Regions from separate parts of the Homo sapiens genome. Here region 1 is linked to region 2. The links are contacts of gene promoters, found by promoter capture Hi-C in blood cells and fetal thymus (Javierre and others, 2016). All regions are on one chromosome and are shown on one strand. Each heading gives the region's core, a stretch centred on a gene start or on the middle of the fragment in contact. The rest is flanking DNA. Distances are from core to core; before and after follow the strand shown.

Region 1 (3,906 bases), core at 1,266-3,765, 2.4 Mb before region 2:
ATGAGACCCTAACCCTGGCCAACAACTTTATTATGGGTTTGTGAGAGACCCTAAAGCAGAGACTCAGTTTAGCCATGTCTAGATTCCCACAAAACTGGAGATACTAAATGTGAGTTGTTTAAGCTGCTATATTTTGGAGTAATTTGTTATGCAATAGTAACCATTATGCCTAGAATGAACTTTATAGTACCATTTCCTAGAAGTCAAAAGAATGCCACCTTCTAGACTTTCAACAGAAAAGTATAATAATAATAACAGCAGCAACAACATTGTTTATCATTTATTGAAAATTTTATATGTGATAGGTATAGTATTAATTGTTTTACTATATTAAACTTATTAACTTATTTAACTTAACAGATTAGGAAACTGAGTCTCAGAGAGAGGTTAATTAACTTGTCCAAATTAGAATGGATAATGGATTGTATTACTTCAAAACTCATGTTCTTAAATCAGGTAAATACAATGAGCTTTTATCACAATATGATGACTTCAGATGTACTCTAACTGTGCTTAGCTCCGTGCTTGGCACACAGTAGCTGCTCAGTAAATGTAAGCTGTGATTATTAGATCTTGAACTCACAATAAAGAGACCCTGTGTCAGTTTGCATTGAAAAGCCAGCTCTTCATATCCTGCTGGGGTACATGGTCTTGCTCATAGTGATCACAGTAGTCCACACATTTTGAGCAAGGCCCTGCTTCACCAAGTGACTTTAATAGCCCATCCAAATATGTCTTCTCAGGAGGCCTGTCTAGTGTGCTGCAACGTGCTGAACTAATTTTCATTCTGCTCAGATCGTACCATTGACCTCTGGGGGCTCTGATCCATTCACATAGGTTGCCCATGCCCATATACAGATGCTGGGCAATAATATTTAGAAGAGTGATCAAATATGAGGCACCAGTTGCCTTCCAATGATCTGTTGCAGCTGAAATTAAATACTCCTTTCTTATTATCTCTACAAGACTTGGTTAACTCCTATTTACAGATGGAATTTTATAGCCAGCATATTTTATAGAGCACTTACCCTAATGACAATAACAGAAACACCTTATAACTGTGTCAGCTTGACTGTTTATAAAAACACTTTCATATGCATCTCATTTGATTCTATGGCACTTCATCTATGCCCTATGAAATGAATACATTTCTACCTCATATTATAGCTATTTATACATGAGGCTGTATGGTCTAGTGGAAAAATCATACTCTGGCTTCGGACAAACCTGAATTTGAATCCCAGGTCCACCACTTCCTAGATGTGTGACTTGAACAAATCTGTGATCCTCATTAAACTTTTGTTTTCTGCATTTGTAAGGTGGGCTTAATCATGCACATCTTATAGGGTTTCTGTGAGGTAAGAGATAACATGTAAAGTGCAGGGCAACTACTATGTATTCAACTAATACTTTCTTAAAAATATTATCATTAGTTTGTATGATGTTAGCTAGCAAAATCTGTGACTATTCATTTTATCTCCAACAGACCCAGAATTGTGCCTTTTATCTTTAGAAAGAAGCTTAATACATACTTCTTGAATAGACAAACCTGAGGTAGGCACAGGAGTTATTATCCCAGTAGATGGAGGTTAAATGGCCTGCCCAGGGATCACATGGCTGATAAATGATAGAACTGGAATTTGGATTCTGATTGTTTGCTGTCTAGTCCAGTGCATCTTCCTGCAGTCTTTTAGATTGGTTTGCAAAACTGACATGCTGGAAATAAAGTCTCTTGTAGAAGACAGCCTAGTAAGCGACAAGTCTAGGTTTTCCACTAGGATTCAGATATCTTTGGATGTGCTGTAAAGAGACACCTCATCCTACTTCCTCATGGGCTATAAGGAGTGTCTTAGAAAGAGAGCCACAGGCCGGGGGTGGTGGCTCACGCCTGTAATCCCAGCACTTTGGGAGGCCGAGGTGGGTGGATCACGGGGTCAGGAGGTGGAGACTATCCTGGCCAACATGGTGAAACCCCGTCTCCACTAAAAATACAAAAATTAGCTGGGGGTGGTGGCGCGTGCCTGTAGTCTCAGCTACTCGGGAGCCTGATGCAGGAGAATCGCTTGAACCAGGGAGGCGGAGGTTGCAGTGAGCCAAGATCCTGCCACTGCACTCCATCCTGGCAACAGCGAGACTCCATCTTAAAAAAGAAAGAAAGAAAGAAAGAAAGAAAGAAAGAAAGGGAGTCACATACCCTAATAGACATGCTATTGGACATGCTCAGTCCAATAAAATGGGCTTAGTTGTTGGAGAGTTGGGGTAAATCTGAGCATAGTCTATTGCCCACCATTAAGATTTACCCATCGATCTAGTTTCCCAGGAATTTATGTCTAAATCTTAGGTAAAGAGGTGTTGAAAGTAAAAATAAAACACAAACAGAAAAAAACAGTAGTTTCTCTAAAGATCTCTGTGGGATATTGGAAGAAAGATAAGGCAGCACCGCTTTTATGCCTACCTAATTGAGAGTTAGCTCAGAACATAGCCAACTGTGGCACATGGGGTTTCTAGGGAGCAGAACTCAGCTTTGGCACTTGGAAGGCGTTAGCACATCAGTGATGCCAGGGGCAGCACAGAGCTGCAGATGCTACCCAGTCTCTAGTAATTGGCACAGCAGTAGCACCTTGTGCCATATTGTTTAAAGAGCAGTACAAGGCAGCATCAGTGGCTTGATGTGGCCTTGGAGACTTTGGGAACTAAGCAGTATCCTTGGTACAAACATTAATGCTGTCATCTTTCATGGTAGGCACTGGTAGCAGCGATGAGGTGCCTGTGGTTTGGTATAGGTAGCAAAGGTCTAGGAAGTCCGTAAAGTGGAGAAGGCTTCTTTATGGGTAGACTTGAGACAACCCATGGGGGTTATGAGAAATAAGTGGAGAACCTAGAGATACTGTAATGATAGATTTGGGGGAAAACCAGAGAAAATGCTGTTTATGATCATTAATATCCCACTTTTACCTGTAGCTTCATATGGTTTGGGGAATTATTGATTATGATTATGATAGTAACCTGACATGAGTGGCCAGATTGATCACAGTATAGATAGCCTGGGGCCCTTCCAGCTCCTGTTCTTCAGTATGAGAGGTTTCTAATTGTCACACGTGGAATTCTGCCTTCTTCCTCATACCTGCCTCCTGCTCCAACACGCTACGAGTTCAATATTCGGTGCTATCAAGCAGCATTCCTGGAAGCACAGAGATTTGAAAGAAAGGTTTCTGAATGTCATGCCAAATCTCCATCTGACTGGAGTAACTCAAGCAAATAGTCCAAAACTTCCAGAATAAATTGGATAAAGGTGGTAAGCACTTTCGAGCTTCCAAGAAGTGGGGCGGGGATGGAGGAAGCTGCCCAATATTAACAATATGCACAGAGACAGAGGCATTTGTATTACAGTGGGTGGTATGCTGTGTTTCCCTCTTACTAAGTGTTGCCCATGCAAAGGCTGAGATGGTGGCATGATGCCTTTGCTGTCAGTGATACCAATTGCATTTGTGTACTCTAAGAGAAATAAAATAAGCTTCTTTCCCTCATGATGATATAATTGTCTTTCTTGTCCTTCGAGATTAGCCAAAGATGTAGTAAAGGCATTAGATATGTGTTAAGAATGACACCACCACAACCACCACCATTACCAGCAACAACAAGAGTAAACACTTACATAGCACTTATTCCGTTTTTGGCACTGTTCTAAGATACACACACGCATGCATATACATGCACATACTTTTTTTCTCCATTATTCCATCTGTCTTCTCACAATGACTTACAGATTGGGCAAAAGAGTGGTCCTCCTCAGGCCAAATTAGGTTTTTCTAAAGTGTGTTTTTAAGATCTTTTGTTCTGGAGAGCTTAACAGGTGTTACAAAACAGGATTCCCTGATCAAGTAAGTTTGGGAGACATTGGGTTAT
Region 2 (3,547 bases), core at 1,025-3,524:
GATTGTCTCCCGGGCCTTTTGAGGAGCCACAATGGAAAGATTTTAATGTGGAACATTGGCATAGACTTGATAGCAGAGTCTGAAGTTATGTGGAATATGAGGAGAGAGGAGGATGACAGCATGAGGAAACTTGGGGGACAAGAGGGCACTTTTACTAGGTGAGAAAGAGGGAAGGGAGTTTGGAAATTAACATTTATTGATTTTTCTCTGAGGCAGGCACTGAATTAGATGCTTTCATATCAATTATCTTACTTAATTTTCACAACTGCCTTATAAAGAAAGATATTAATATTCCCATTTTGAAGATGAGAGAACTGGGGTTCAGATTAACAAAGTTGTTCAAGGTCACACACTGCCTGTATGTGATGGGACTTAGACTCGAACCTGGACGTGTATGCCTCCTAAGCCCATGTTCCCGAATAATGCTATGTCCCTGTCTACATTTGGCAGGGGATGACCAACCTTACCTCTGCTACCCGCTTTGCCCTAATGCTTCTTCCACTGAAAAGATGAGTCTCCTCAGACTCTCATGTTTCTCCTTCACTCCTGTCCATGAAATATCAAAATGGAGACAAAAGATTTCTATGAGTGGTGGGTGGGAGGAAATTATGCATTATCAGAATGAATAGAAATTTGGGAAGAGCCTAGGACAATTTTTCTGGTTTGAAGCCATTTTGTTCCATTGTTCCAGGCTCCAGACTACGTCTCGCCAAATCCAAAGTTCTGTAGCAACTGATATACTAGCTGGGCTCCAGGGTCCTTCTATCCCCTGTATATTCCCAATTTTATCCCCGATGTATATCAGTTCGCTTTACACTGGCAGGAGAGTTCATGTTCCACTTAGACCAGGAGGAGAGGATATGAAAAGGAAAATAGCAGGTGTGGGGAGGATAAAACCCATGCCTTCTACAGTAACTGTAAAGTAAAAGTGAAAAACGTGAGAGATAAAGAGGATTCTTTTTCCTCATTGCGGGAGAAAGGGGCTAGGGAGAGGAGTCTATAGCCCAGGAGGTTCATCCGCAGCATGCTATGGAGAAGGCCACCGTCACTGAAATCCGGTCTGTACTGTAGGACTTCATAGGTTCTTTGCTCGCCTTAGAGCAGAGGGGAAGAAGAGTCAGAAAGAATTGATAACCTCTGAGGTCATCAGTCAGGGGCCTAGGCTGCTAAGTCCAGAGGCAACACCAAGGGATCAATGCAGCTAGGTACAGTTTTCTCCAGCCTCAACTTTCAATCCCCACCCCCAGACCAGCTCATTCCCACACCTCCCTCCTCCTTGGTCAGTGAGCCTGAGCGTCCTTTTCATTAACCTTTTAGTTACTACCTCTACGCACATACTTTTTCCTATGCCCTCCAAAGAAGTCAGCCCCATACTGCCCATCACTGCTCAGCACCGCCCACCCCATGCCCCCGCAAGCCGGCCTCAGCACTAGTTTAAGGGGAGGGACACGCCTCCCAAAGCTGCGGGGATGGGGGTGGGGGTTGCTCACTCGCCCTCGGATCTCTGCTGTAAAAGCGGAGCGGCAGAGACCGGGCATGCGCAGCATCTTCGGGCGCATTGTGATGGGAACTGCTTCTCTGAGTCTCTACAAAGACTCCGGAGTAACCACTAATGGCCCTCCTAAGGCCCCCCTTCTTTAAGACAGACACACAAACACAGAGGCAATGCAGCTATTTTTTTTTAAAGGGTGGGAGGACGTTGCAGCTTGAAAGGTTGATCCACGTTAGGAGTGGTGTATTTCTATTGATCCCATCTCCGGTGTTGACAAACGCCAGCGCCTAGGCTTTGCAGTCCGGGGCTGCAGTTTGCAGTAGAGCTAAGCGGTGTGCGGCTTTAATTCCACGTCAGATCAACTTTGATCAATATCCCCCTACTGGCCCAATTGGAAGAGCCCAATTCACCGGCACTGAGCCTTTTCGCTCTTTCCTTTTTTTCCCCCCCTCTTTAGACCTACCATCTTTTGCGGGGGGGGGGGGGCGCGGAGAGAGTCTCAGATTGTCTTGATAATTTATTCTTTCGTTCTCTTTCTTTTGCTTCTCTATTTTTGTTTTTCAGTGTTTTGCTTGTTTTGTTCTGTTTTAGGATTTTATTCTCTCTCTCTCTCTCTCTCTCTCTCTCTCTCTCTCTCTCTATCATAGGGACAGAAATCGCTTTGGCAAACCCAGCTTGCAGCCAATGAACCCGCCTTCCAGATTGGTGTGAAGACAGAAGTGAGGTGGGGGGAAGGGAGGGGGTGTGAGAGATCCTGGGAGCGAGAGGGAGAGAGAGGGAGCAAGAAAGGAAGAGAGAGCGAGCGAGAGAGAGCGAGCGAATAAGAGAGAGAGTAAGAGGGAGAGAGAAGAAGAGGAAGAAGAGGAGGCGGCGGCAGCGGAGGAGGAGGAGGACTAGTGTGGGGTGGAAAGGAAGAGTGAGCGAGAGCAAGTTAAGGGGAGGGGGTGTAAGAGCCAGCGAATTCTTTTTCTTTTTCTATTATTATTTTGACGACTCCTGAGTTGCGCCCATGCTCTTGTCAGCTTCGTTTTAGGCGTAGCATGGCCAGGCAGAAGAAAATGGGGCAAAGCGTGCTCCGGGCGGTCTTCTTTTTAGTCCTGGGGCTTTTGGGTCATTCTCACGGAGGATTCCCCAACACCATCAGCATAGGTAAGCGCAAGCGAGCCAGCCGTCGGTCCAGGCTCTCCCTCACCCGAGACCACTGCCCCGGCAAGGCTTTCCCTGCGGTGGGTCCCTGTCCTGCGTGGCCTGGGAACTGGGACTGGGGCCGGGACCGGGCAGAGATGGTGCGGGGCGGGGGGCGGGGCGGGGGGAATCTGAGCCTCAACGAGGTGGCTGGTCTGAAGAGCCTCTGGGACAAGAGAGGGGTCTCCTGGGGCTAGTGGGGGTGAACTGCTAGGTTTTCCGAGCCGAGAGGAGCACCGGAGGCGAGCAGGAGGCTGGGATGCTGCAAGGGGGTGAAGAGTCGAGGCTTTTCGGCTCGCTGCTCTGGACTTTGCCATGGCGTGCGTGCAGCTCCTGGAAGTTGTCCCAGGGTGATGCCGACTGTCTGGCCGCGCCAGGGCGCATAACCCGGGCCCGGGGTGCTCAGTCCGTGGTCTCCGGCTGTCGGGAGACAGGCTGGTGCTGGGGGAGGTGGAGCCCACTTTGGATCTCCCAGACCCGGGCAGCAGCAGGCGTTGGTGGTGGATGGGGTAGGAGGCGGGGGTGAGACTAGGAGCTGAGCGGGCAAGCGGCGAAGTCACGCAGACCACGAATTCATGAATTGCCGCTGTGTCTGTCTGGAGCCCGGCTCCTGGGCGCCTGGAGGGAGTTATCTTGGCTTCTGTCGTATTTACAAGTCTAGAAGTTAGAATTTTTGCCATTACTGAACCAACCCCCTGTATTGTCACGGGGGAGGGTGGCTATGGGGAACGGGTTGGGGTAGCAGGGGGAACAATATTGTTTTTCTTCCCAACCTTTCCCTTCACACAATGAAAAGATGACCAGCTGTGCGGATGGGCGGGGGGCGGAGGGGGGGGGCGACTAAAAAAAAAGAAGGCTGCCGACTAAGAA

Evidence for each region. The method cuts DNA at HindIII sites, captures the fragments that hold promoters and counts their contacts. A CHiCAGO score of 5 or more calls a contact.
Region 1: a contact is called between a fragment that was not itself captured here and the fragment with the promoter of GRIA3 in region 2, in 1 of 17 cell types (M1 macrophages). The highest score is 6.6, in M1 macrophages.

The regions. Positions count from the first base shown.
Region 1 is chrX:120,782,832-120,786,737 of GRCh38, forward strand. No RefSeq gene overlaps it. Among named protein-coding and RNA genes, the nearest start is that of CT47B1, 91 kb to the right of the region's middle. The HindIII fragment of the contact is 1,994 bases long and covers 1,519-3,512 here.
Region 2 is chrX:123,182,004-123,185,550 of GRCh38, forward strand. It overlaps GRIA3 (glutamate ionotropic receptor AMPA type subunit 3), which reads left to right and starts at 2,275. Exons shown (of 16, transcript NM_007325.5): 1 at 2,275-2,641. The coding sequence starts at 2,533. The HindIII fragment of the contact is 6,706 bases long and covers 1-3,547 here.